2 separate regions of the Homo sapiens genome follow, and region 1 is linked to region 2. Evidence: promoter capture Hi-C in 16 types of primary human blood cells and fetal thymus (Javierre and others, 2016). All regions are on one chromosome and are shown on one strand. The core of a region is centred on a gene start or on the middle of the fragment in contact, and the rest is flanking DNA. Distances in the headings are between cores, read along the strand shown. Region 1 overlaps CBFB (core-binding factor subunit beta). Region 2 holds the start of B3GNT9 (UDP-GlcNAc:betaGal beta-1,3-N-acetylglucosaminyltransferase 9).

Region 1 (6,091 bases), core at 93-2,592, 79 kb before region 2:
GTCCCCAAATTGAACTATATCACTACAAATTAAGTGCCATCTGTTGTGATAGTTTACTACTATCACAATGGAGTTACATAACTCTTACCGATAATAGGAGTTATACAGTGTATAGTAAAAAAAATTCAGAGCAGGTGACTCCAACTATTTAGGCAGCAATCAGTACTTCCCTGTAGCTCCCCTTGTCCCCATCTGCAAGATAATATAAGTAAAGAAGCAATGAAATGTAGATGCTAGGGGCAGGAGTTCATAGTCGTATAATGTGAATCCTGGCCCCACTACTTACCAGCTCTCATGAACTGAATGTTTGTTTACCCCATCCCCAAATTGATATGTTGAAGCCCTACTCCCGTTGTTACTGTACTTGAAGATAGGGCATTTATGGAGGTAATTAAGGTTAGATAAAGGCGTAAGAGTGGGGCTCTGATCCAGTAGGGTTAGTGTCCTTAAGAGACAGGAGAGAGCTCTCTGTCTCTCTCTCTGCCGTATGAGGACACAGTGAGAAGATGGATGTCTGCATGCCAGAAAGAGGTTCCTCACGGGGAACCAAATTGGCTGGCACATTGATCTGGGATTGCTAGTCTCCAGAAATGTGAGAAAATAAATTTCTGTTGTTTAAGCCACTCCATTTATGGTATTTTAGTATGGCATCCTCAGATGACTAAAACACTAGCTGTGTGATGCTGGCAAGTTATTAAATCTCTCCAGGCCTCAGATTTCTCCTTCCTAAGATGGGATAATGCTGCCCACAAGATTGTGGGCAGTTGAATGGGATAGCATATGTAAAGGGCTGTGCCTAGCACAGTATCTAGCGTGCAGTACAGTTCCTAAACAAAGACTCTTGTTTGTTACTGCTTGTACTTTAGCATTTTATACTTAGGGTTTCCACTCTTCTCCAGATGTCTGTCTTGTGAAGTAGTGTGTAAAATCACAAAGCATGGATTTCAGCCCTCTTTCACTGGGCTGGAATAGGCCCCATCTCTAGCGAGTGAGCCGGTGGCAGCCTCACTTCCATGGCCCAACACAGCTTTGTTTCTCTCTGCTGATCACACAGGCAGAAATAACTCTTCTGAATTAACCAAAAAACAGTTTTTTGAAAAGTTAAAGTTCATGGTTAATGTTATATCATTCATAATGTAATATAATTTGATATAGGATGAGAGTGACCATATTACTTATTGTAACTGTATTATTCCTAAAAGTATAAGGTCATGTTTAACTGAAATTATATAATATTTTGACCCACAAATTGATTTTATTATATTGCTAGCCCTAGAAAAATTGTTTCATTCAAAAAACATTTTTAAAAATACGTTTTTAAATAAAACAACATGTGCACATTACAGCAAAATAAAAGTTATATCTTTATGCTAATCTTCTGAACATTAAGATTAATAAGCAGAATACTTAGTCTTGATATTTATTCATGCACTTTATTAGTCTCTTATTTATATCTGTATCTAATATTTTTCTGAAGAATATATAGATTTTTCAATATGGTCTTGTTTTTCTTTTTTTTTCTTTTTTTTTTCCAGACAGAGTCTTGCTCTCTCACCCCGGCTGGAGTGCAATGGCACAATCTGGGCTCACCTCAACCTCCGCCTCCTGGGTTCAAGCGATTCTCCTGCCTCAGCCTCCTGAGTAGCTGGGGTTACAGGCATGTGCCACCATGCCCGGCTAATTTTGTATTTTTAGTAGAGACGGGGTTTCTCCATGTTGGTCAGGCTGGTCTTCAACTCCTGACCTCAGGTGATCTGCCCGCCTCAGCCTCCCAAAGTGCTGGGATTACAGGCGTGAGCCACCATGCCCGGCCTCTTTTTTCTTTTTTTTTTTTTAGCGACAGAGTCTTGCTCTGTTGCTCAGGCCAGAGTGCAGTGGTACAATGACAGCTCACTACAGCCTCAAGCTCCTGCCGTGCTTGGCTAATTTTTTTTATCTTTTGTAGAGATGAGGTCTTACCATGTTGGCCAGGCTGGTCTTGAATTGCTGGCTTCAAACGATCCTCCTGCCACAGCCTCCCAAAGCACTAGGATTATAGGCATGAGCCACTGCATCTAGCCCCTTACTTTTATTTTCTTCATAAAAGTGCCCACAATATGCTTCAGAGTTGCATATTATAATTAGTAAATTTGGAACAGCTGACATCTTCAATTGAGTGTCTGTAAACTACGTAAAAAATTGACAAAATACTCTAACAAATGCTGAAGTATCTGGTAAACTAAGAGCTAAATGGAAGAGAGTCAATTCCATTTTTGAAAGATTAAATTGTATAACTATTTCAGCTGAAATATTTTCACAGGTATTGTCTCTGCTTTTGTCCAGAGTGCCTTTCTTTGACAAGTTTGGTATAAGACAATACCTGTCAAAGCTGTCTCTATTTATGATTCTGTCTCTATTTATGATTCTTCTGAAAATTTTGCCAAGTTCAGTTACTTCAGAATCAAATCATTTCCAGTTAAAAATGGAATTCCATCCAAGATTCTTTTCCCAAAAAGAAACAGAAGACATGTGACCAGATGCAGTGGCTCATACTTGTAATCCCTGCACTCTTGAGAGGCCGAGACAGGTGGATCACTTGAGGTCAGGAGTTCGAGACCAGCCTGGCCAACATGGTGAAACTCCGTCTCTACTGAAAATTCAAAAATTAGCCATGGTGGTGCGTGCCTGTGGTTCTAGCTACTCAGGAGGCTGAGGCAGGAGAATTACTTAAACCCAGGAGGTGGAGGTTGCGGTGAGCCGAGATCGTGCCATTGCACTCCAGCCTGGGCAGCAGAGTGAGACTCCATCTCAAAAAAACACGAGGCCGGGCGCAGTGGCTTATGCCTGTAATCCCAGAACTTTGGAAAGCTGAGGCGGGCAAATCACCTGAGGTAAGGAGTTCGAGACCAGCCTGGCCAACATGGTGAAACCCGTCTCAACCAAAACTACAAAAATTAGCCGGGCATGGTGGAGGGCACCTGTAGTTACTTGGGAAGCTGAGGCAGGAGAATGGCATGAACCCAGGAGGCGGAGCTTGCAGTGAGCCAAGATGGTGCCACTGCACTCCAAGCCTGGGCAACAGAGCAAGACTCCATCTCAAAAAAAACAAAAAACAAAAAACACCAAGCTGTTATTTGCAGAAGATGCATGTACTTAGAAAATCTAAGATAATTTACACACTATTAAGAAAACTAACACATGAATTTCACAGGGCATTAGATGTAATACAAGGTCAGTACACCATCAGTTACATTTCTATATACCAGCAATAAACAAAGACAAAGGTGACACTGCAGTGCAGACAAGGGTGGGGGGCAGGGGGTAGGTCTCTTCAGTAAATGATGCTGGGACAATAAAACATTTCTGTGAGGGGAAAATATATCAGAGCCCCTTATACCATTCACAAAAATCAATTTCAGATGGATAGCAGTTTATAAAATGTAAAACAGTAAAGCTTTTTTTTTTTTTTTGAGACAGAGTCTAGCTCTGTCACCAGGCTGGAGTGCAGTGGCGTGATCTCAGCTCACTGTAACCTCTGCCTCCCGGGTTCAAGTGATTCTCCTGCCTCAGCCTCCCAAGTAGCTGGGACTACAGGCACGTGCCATCATACCCTGCTAATTTTTGTATTTTTAGTAGAGACGAGGTTTCACCATGTTGGCCACGCTGGTCTCGATCTCTTGACCTCATGATCCACCCGCTTCGGCCTCCCAAAGTGCTGGGATTACAGGCATGAGCCACTGTGCCCGGCCGAAACAGTAAAGCTTTTTAAAGGAAAATGAGAAGATCATTTTGTGACCTTGGAGTAGGCAAAAACTTGAACAGGACACAAAAGATGCTAAACTGTAAGTAAATGGATAAATAACGAATTATGGTAAAACCAAGAACTGTTTATCAAAAGACAGTATTAAGAGAATGTAAAGGCAACCTGAACAGTGGTGGAAAATGTTTTCTGGCAAAGGACTTACATAAAATATGTAGAGGCCAGGCGCAGTGGCTCATGCTTGTAATCCCAACACTTTGGGTGGCCAAGGTGGGCAGATCACTTGAGGCCAGGAGTTGGAGACCAGCCTGGTATGGCAAAACCCCATCTCTACTAAAAAATACAAAAATTAGCCAGGTATGGTGGCACACACCTATAATCCCAGCTACTCAGGAGGCTGAGGCAGGAGAAGCCCATGAACCTGGGAGGCAGAGGTTTCAGTGAGCCGAGATCACGTCACTGCACTCCAGCCTGGGCAACAGAGCGAGATTCTATCTCAAAAAAAATGTGTGTGTGTGTGTGTGTGTGTGTGTGTGTGTGTGTAAAGAACTCTTACATTTCAGTGAGAAAATATTTTCATTGAAAGGAAACACAGACAACCTAAAAGAAATTGGCGAAAGACATTTAACAGGCAGTTCACAAACAGGCTATGCAAATGAAAAGGATTCAGCTTTCTTGGATCATCAGAAAAATAATTATTAAAACCACAGTACTACCACACAGTCATCAGAATGGTTCAAATGAAGAAGACAGTACCAAACATTGACAAGAATGTAGAGCAGCAGTTGGTGTGTTGGTTATGTAAGATTGGCACAACATTTGGAAAACTGGCTGTAAATATGCAAGCTGCGCATGCATATATGTGTGTGTGTGTGTATATATATATACACACACTATGATCTAGCAGTTCTACTCCAAGGCATGATGGCAACAGGAGTGAATATGCATATTCATCACAAAATATGTGCTAGGACATTTATAACTATTATTAGTAATAGCTAGAAATTGTAAACTGCGCAAATGGCCATTAACAGTGAAATTTATAAAGTGCGTGGTCACACAAATACACTGAGAATGAAAAGCTACAACTAACACCAATATGTGTGAGTTCCTCAAAAATATTGAGAGTACAGAACAGGCCAGTTATGGTGCCTCACCCTTGTAATCCCAGCGCTTTGGGAGGCCAAGGCAGGAGGGTTGTTTCAGGCCAGGAGTTGAAGAGCCTGAAATTTAAAAATTTCAAAAATTTTTAAAAATTAACTGGGTACAGTGGCTCATGCCTGTAATCCCAGCACTTTGGGAGGCCAAGGTGGGCAGATCACAAGGTCAGGAGTTCGAGACCACCTTGGCCAGTATGGTGAAACCCCGTATCAACTAAAAATACAAAAATTAGCTAGGTATGGTGGTGGGTTCCTGTAGTCCAAGCTGCTCGGGAGGCTGAGGCAGGAGAATCGCTTGGACCCGGGAGGCAGAGGTTGCAGTGAGCTGAGATCGCGCCACTGCACTCCAGCCTGGTGACAGAGCTAGACTTCATCTCAAAAAAATTTAAAAAATTAGCCAGGCATGGTGGCATGCACTTGTAGTCCTAGTTACTTGGGAGGTTGAGGTAGGTCGATCACTTGAGCCCAGGTGGTCAAGGCTGCAGTGAGCCATGATTGCTCTATTGCACTTCAGCCTGGGCAACAGACTGCCTCAAAAAAATAAATAATTTAAAAAACATCACATGTTATATGAATCGATTTATGTAAAAGTACAAAATCAGGTAAAACCAATACATGTTTTTCCCCCCATTTATTTCTTTTTATAGAAAGTAAAAAAGAGGCAAAATTAAGCAAAATGCCTCTTGGTAATAAATAATAGGAAAGCCATAAGTAGTATTCACAAAATTATGGATAGTGGTCACCTCTAGGAACAGGAGGGAAACAGGGTAGAGCAGCACAGAAACTGAAATGCCCAAAGTCTCAAACTCCTGACCTCAGGTGATCTGCCACACTTGGTTTTTTAATATAATTGTCTAAAAGCTTGAAAAATATGAAGATTTTGGCACTTTACCATTGAATAATCAGAGATTTCCAACTAATTTTAAACAAAACTTTACTACAAAGACTCATTTACCAAAAGAAGGTCATTGTTATTGTAGGAACTAGGTTGGTTTTAGCATAGTTCTTGAGACTCAAGTTTTCTAAAAATCCAGTGTGTACTGTCATGAGATTAGTTTTTTTTTTTCATTGTCAGCTTTGTCAAAATTCTGCAGTTCAGTTACTTTAACTATGGATATATAAAGATATTTGTAAGTTATATAAACTATAACTTCTAAAGGATAGAATGTTTCATTTCTTTGGATGCAGTTAT
Region 2 (6,481 bases), core at 2,689-5,188:
CACATTGCCTCGGTGACCCTGTATGGCCCCCCCAGGCCTGGTAGCCACCTGAGAACAGCGGAACTCCCCTAGGGACACCACCACCCATGCCCCTCTGTCCCGTGGAACTGTGCATCACATCCTGCTCAGTGGGCCTCTGTACCACCCTGTGGGTTTTCTTGGACACCTGGCCAGTGCTGAAGGGCTGTTGTGATGTTCTGAGGTTGGGCTCAGGCTGGGTGCTCTGCCATGGGCTGAGTGGCCCAGATATTCTTCTGTCCATCTTTGGCCTGCTGGTGCCAGCAGGGGACACAGACTGCAAAGAGAAGCACAAAGTTTGAGCCTTGATTCCTGGACCCAGGAGCTCTCAACTAACAAGGAGGCAGGAGAGGTCAACCCTTGTCCCATGCACATTGGGAAGACTTGGGGCTCTTTCTGTGACTGAGGACACAGGCACCCAGGATAAGGACAAGGTCCTGCCTTTGGCTCCACATTGCCACATGACCCTTAAGGCAAGCAGGTAGCGTGTCCATAGTACTTGGTTGCGACATTTGCACTACATCCACTTTAGTTACTTGATGAGCTGGCTGTGGCCAGGGTGGCCCACCTGCCCTTCCCTGTTCCTTTCTTGCACGCGCTCCCTGCCTGGGCACACCAAACTGGTTGAAACACAGCTTTCTACCATCCAGGTACATGCCCAGGCCTGGTTCTCACCCCTGTTGGAGTCAGCTTTCAAGATTGCCTGTGCCCCTGCTCTGCCCCATCCTGGCTGGCAGGGCTGCATGTTTCCATCCTGTTTGCCTCTTTTATTTAATGCCAAAGTTTTAGCCAAAGACATCTTCCTACTTTTGTTGTGTTTCAGCATTCTGTTCTGCACTGTGGGCTGGCTCTCTGCCCCAACCCTGGGCACTGGCCCCTGGCTGGGCCATTTCATGGCTCAAAGCCTCTGGGGGCTCAAGGAAGGCTGGGCTGCTCAGTCCCTTCATGGGTCTTGCTAATGGAAAGTAGCATATATGTGCTTTAAAAATATTAATCCTTTTGAAAAGAACTGAGAAGAAAAATGTATAATTTTATCCCATTTTTAATATTTTGGTCTAGCAACTTGTGATACATAGATGACAATTTTGTGAGTTTTTCAAATGTGTGTACAGATTTTTGTAAATATGACTCTTTTGTAATTAACTCATGTACAGCCTCATCCTGTATAGTTTAATGATGAATGTGCAGGGGACCTGTCTCAGGCTCCTATATGGTTCCTGGGCCTTATAGCCAGGTTTGTGTGGCGCTCCCGACTTTTGTGACTGACTGGTGTCTTCCCATTTGGACTGTGGCCTGGCCAGAGCCCCTTGCATATCCCCACTGTCAGGGGCAGCCAGGACTGTTCCCATCCTCCTGGAATGGGGGAACCTTCCTTATCCCCTGCCCACATCCCCTCTCCAATAAAGCACCTGTGCCCTCAGCAATGGCCTGCCATGTGCTGTTGCTGGGATGTTTGTATTAAGGTAAGTGTGGGTATTGGTTTTTTGAGCAAGGGGGTGGTTGAAGCATATGGGGAAATTAATAGTGGTGGCATCTCAGGGGAAGACATTCCTTGGCTCCTCTGAGGGGATACAGCCTCCAGTGGGAGACTGGCATTGTTGTGTGAGTTCAGGAGGTGAGGAAAGACTAGGTAGGACCGTGCACTCATTTGTCCCTTATGTGTGGCTCCATCCCTGGTGCTCAGCCACACCTGGGCCCAGGAGAGGTTGTGGGAAGCATAATATCTGTTTTCAGATGAGCTATGGCAAAGTGCCTGCCAGGTTCATGAATTCAGGCTGTGGCGGCCGGAGCCCCTCCACCTCCCTGTGGGGCCTGGCCTTGAGAGCCTCTGCATACGTCCGCGTCAGCCTAGGGGGTTCCAAATCCAGCAGAGTGGTAGGATTCCCTAAGTCCCTGCCACCACACCAGAACACACCTCTGTGCTACTAGGAGGACCAGACATATCCACTGCTCTGGGACCTGTTGGACAAGAGATGGTCATCTACCACCCAGCCTTGGCTCGCTCAAAGGGTCACCATTACACGGGTTTCAACTGGTTCCAGCAGGGTGGACCGCCAGGAGCCAAGCTTAACCCCCATCCCCTGGGATCCTGTGGAGACAGGCACCTGGTGATCAGGGAAGAACCACATACACGGCAATAATCTGGGAAACCGGCTCCATTCTGGGTCTGAGTTAGGAGCTTGGGGCTGTAGTGGGGAGCTAGGAGTCCCATTGGAAGGGGCCTGCAGCGACAGGCTGTGGATGCGCACAGGCTGGCCCATGCGGCCCGTGCAGCAGGCGCCACATAAGCCAGATGTCAGCGGCCGAGAGCCCGTGCACTACAACCAGCTCACGGTAAAAGCAGGGGTCGAAGGTGCTCAAATGCGGCGCGGCTGAAGGCTGGGGGATGCCAAAGGTGCGGAAGGCAGGGTGAGGCTCGGGCGTGAGCCGCAGGCGCTGCAGACACATGCCCAGAAAGACGTCGTCGATGGGGAAGAGCTCGACCTGCGCACAGGCGCCAGCCAGGCGGTGCAGCGTGGCCCCGGAAAGCACAAAGCCACCGCCGCCCGCGTAGGCCGGATAGGCGGGCAGGCCGTACACGGCCTCGGGGATGTAGTACTTGCTAGCCCGCGTGCGGATGGGCCGCGCATGCACAATTACGTCACCAGCAAGCAGGTCTTGCGCCGGGTCCCGCGGCGCCAGGAACTCCAGGAGATTTCCCACGTTCACGAACACATCTGCGTCGCCCTTAAAAACGAAGCGCACGTCGGGGCAGAAAGCTGAGGCCCAGGCTAGAAAGTGGATCTCCTTGAGCGTTAGGTTAAAAAAGGTGTCGTCGAAGGCCCAGAGCAGGATGTCCGCATACGCAAGGCTCTCGGCCCGCAGCAGGGCGCGCCAGTGGGTTCGCGCGCCCTCCCCAACTTCGTCGGCCCCGCCCGAGCCTGCGCCCCTGGGCACGCCCAGCAAGAACACGCGGCGCACCAGCGCCCCCTGCACGCGACCCTCCGCGCCCCACGTCTGGCGCACGGCTTGGCGCCGCTCGAAGTCCTCTGCCACCGACTTGACAGCAATAAGCAGGTCCGGGCGGCCACCGGGTGCGCCGTCGCCGCGGCACTTGTGCGGCTGGTTAATGAGCAGTGGAAACCGCCGCTGGTCCTTGGCGCGCAAATAGCGGGCGAAGTCAAAGGGTCCCGTAGGCGTGGGCGGCGCCGGTGTGTCCCCTTCGTAGGCCGGCGGGGCTGCACCCGCGTCGGGTAACTGGAACGCGCGGGGTCCGGGGGTGGGCCTCGGTGCCGCCCTCCCTCGCCCTCGCGGCGCGCTCGCCGTCGGGGCCGCGCCGTCGCGCTGCGCATAGAGTAAGAGGCCCAGGGAGGCGCCAAGGAGCAGCGTGAGCAATGCGTCCCTGCGTAGGCGCAGCCTCCTCCTCATCTCCGCGCGGCCTGCGCCCTCCCTCCCCTGTAAGGGTCGCAGTCGGCAGCAGGGGGCAGCGAGCCCCGCCCTCCCCAGCTGAGGGGGCGGGAGGCCACGCCCCGGGGGGGGCTCCAGCGACCGACGGTTGAGCCCCTTGCGTTGTTCTCCTCCTCCCGGCCGTGTCGCACCGCCGGGACCGGCAGCCTGAAGGGACAAGAAGTTCACCCATGTAGCCAACTCCCCCGCGGCCTCAGCTCCGGCCCAGGACTGCGACCCAGGGCCGGGCAGGGAGACTGGGAGCCTCGGCCCCTCCCCCGCCCGCCTCCCTCGCGCTGAGGCCGAATCCCTTCCACCCTGCCATCCCCTCAATGTCGGGCCCTGGGGTCCCGACACTCACGCTCGGCCCTCGGAAGTGGCGCAGCCCCGGACGCCCTGGCCTCCGGGGCTCAGCGCAGGGTCCGAGGGGCCGCCATGGACCGGGCCCGAGCCAAATGCAGCGTTGGCAGGAAGGGGGACCGGTGCCGTGCCACGTGACCCTCCAGCTGTGCGCGCCCAGACTTCTGGAGCTCAGCTCCGCCCCGGCGCCAGGAGCACTCCGGCCTCAGAGTGGGGACTAATCCCTGAGAGGGAGCCTCCTCACTCTCAGTCCCTCTGGGAAGGGCTGGTCTGGGTGCTCACACCCCAAATTCGCCTTTCTGGGGATTGGGAAGAAGCATCAACTCCCCTGGTTAGCTCCCCCAACTATCCACTCCCCACTCCCGCGTCTCTGGAGTGGGGCGGAGCCTGGGCTGCTAGGAGCCCCTGAGCAGGCCGGTTCCAAATGCGCATGAACCTGGCCACCATCCCGGGCGGGCCTCTCCTCAGCAGCCCTGATTCCATCAGGCAGGGTGCATACGCTGCCCCCGAGACACATGGCTGTCTTCTTACTCCTGGTTCTGCCATGCTCCCCACCCCCAGTAAACACACGCACGGGACAAACAAGGCAGCCCACCCAATCCTCAGGGCAACTCTGCCAGCAGCTCTCATTCATGCCCAGATGGGGACACTGGGGGGCTCTTCGGGGAGTTAAGTGACTTGCCCAGGATCCAAAGGCCAGAAAGCTCTGCCCCCAGGTCTTCTGAAATTCAGGCCAGGATTATTTTATCTGTCCTTGCCCCGCTCATTCATCCACTGGGATACAGAACAGGGGGCCAACCCAGTCTGCTTTAATTTCACAGGCAAGCACTTCAGCCTGTCTCCCCGGGGGCTAATGGACCTGAGCCCAAGCCAGGTGCAGTTCTGAGTCCCCTGGTCCCCAGCATAGCCTACTGCAGGTAGAAATGATCAGGCCTGTGCAGCTGCAGGTCAGACAGGGCTGGCAAGGATGGGGACAGCTTGGGAAGACTCCTGGCGGAGGCCTTGGCTAAAGGATTGCTCTGGGATGCAGGTGGACAGAGGTGCTCTGCAATGGAGAGCTAAGTCCTTGCGCAGCTCAGCTGCCAGCTCTCTCTTTCTTGGTCCCAGCCCATGTGGTGGAGCCTGGAATAGACAGCCTCTACTGGTCTCTTAAGAACCCAGCCCCATCCTCTGTCCAAGGGCTATATCTGCTCCTGACGGCTTCTTCCCACCAATGTTCAATCTTAAAAAGCCACCTCTCTGGCTGGGTGTGGTGGCTTATGCCTGTAACCTCAACACTTTGGGAGGCTGAGGTGAGTGGATCACTTGAGGTCAGGAAGTCAAGACCAGCCTGGCCAACGTGGTGAAACCCCCATCTCTACTAAAAATACAAAAATTAGCTAGACATGGTGGTGGGCACCTGTAATCCCAGCTACTTAGAGGGCTGAGGCAGGAGAATTGCTTGAACCTGGAAGGTGGAGGTTGCAGTGAGCCAAGAACACACCACTGCACTCCATCCTGGGCAACAGAGCGAGACTGTCTCAAAAAAAAAAAAAGGCCAGTCGTGGTGGCTTACTCCTGTAATCCCAACACTTTGGGAGGCCAAGGCAGGTGGATCACTTGAGGCCAGGAGTTTGAGACCAGCCTGGCCAACATGGAGAAACCCTGTCTCTATTAAAAATACAAAAATTAGCCAGGTATGGTGGCACGTGCCTGTAATCCCAGGTACTTGGGAGGCTGAGGCAGGAAAATCACTTGAACCCGGGAGACGAAGGCTGCAATGAGCCGAGATCGTGCCACTGCACTCCAACCTGGCAACAGAGTGAGACTCTCTCCAAAAAAAAAAAAAAAAAAAAAAGCCAAATCTCCACCCTGAGCCTTACTCTTTTTGGTCACAAAGTAATCAGGAGTCCTCTGCTCCAGCTTTCTCCGCGGCCTCACCTTCCATTCCCTCCTGTGATAAAGCTTCGGGCTGCCTCCACCATGACTCAGAAAGACCCCTGACTGGTAAGCTCCTTTTAACTGAGTCCAACAGACACTCCTCGGTCTTGACTACCCGCTCCATTATAGTGGGTGGGTAATCCCCTGGTTTCCAAATCTCCTGGTTTTCCTCCTTCCTCTTTGGCTGTTCCCATTCTGGTTGGTGTCCTTCAGGACATCCCCTGGGGCCACCCCACCCACTCCCCACCTGTCTATTCATCAATCTTTAGATTGAACCCTCATCCTGAACTCAGAACTACAGACCCAACTACCCTCATACTCTCTCCCCGGATGCACTGCAGGAACATCATGCTCAACTTGTCCCAAACAGAGCAAGCATTTCATTTCCCCCCAGGGCCCCATCCCAGCAAGCAGTCCCACCCACCATCCAACTGGCAAAGGCAGAAACTTGGGGCCCTCTCTCAGCCATTCCTCACCCAGTGTCACCAGGCCTGTTACTCTTCCACCCACACAGCTCTTTGGTGGTCATCCCCTTCCCTCCATCTCTGCTGCTACTGCCCCAGCCTGGGGCCACCATTTCCCCCACCCCCATCCTCATCAACCTCCCAGTCTTGGCCAGGTGCGGTGGCACATGCCTGTAATCCCAGCACTTTGGGAGACCAAGGTGGGTGGATCACCTGAGGTCAGGAGTTTGAGACCAGCCTGACCAACATGGAGAAACCCCATCTCTACTAAAAATACAAAATTAGCTGGGCAT

Evidence for each region. Contacts are between HindIII fragments. The CHiCAGO score rates a contact against its expected background, and 5 or more counts as called.
Region 1: a contact is called between a fragment that was not itself captured here and the fragment with the promoter of B3GNT9 in region 2, in 1 of 17 cell types (activated CD4 T cells). The highest score is 5.1, in activated CD4 T cells.

Annotation. Positions count from the first base shown.
Region 1 is chr16:67,070,953-67,077,043 of GRCh38, forward strand. All of the region lies in intron 4 of CBFB (core-binding factor subunit beta), which reads left to right. Among named protein-coding and RNA genes, the nearest start is that of PHAF1, 36 kb to the right of the region's middle. The HindIII fragment of the contact is 4,178 bases long and covers 1-3,431 here.
Region 2 is chr16:67,147,060-67,153,540 of GRCh38, forward strand. B3GNT9 (UDP-GlcNAc:betaGal beta-1,3-N-acetylglucosaminyltransferase 9) reads right to left here and starts at 3,939. Exons shown (of 2, transcript NM_033309.3): 1 at 3,806-3,939; 2 at 1,045-3,612. The coding sequence starts at 3,426. The coding sequence ends at 2,218. PHAF1 (phagophore assembly factor 1) reads left to right here. Exons shown (of 16, transcript NM_025187.5): 16 at 1-1,485. The coding sequence ends at 72. RefSeq lists silencers at 3,295-3,724, 3,735-3,894. The HindIII fragment of the contact is 3,664 bases long and covers 2,083-5,746 here.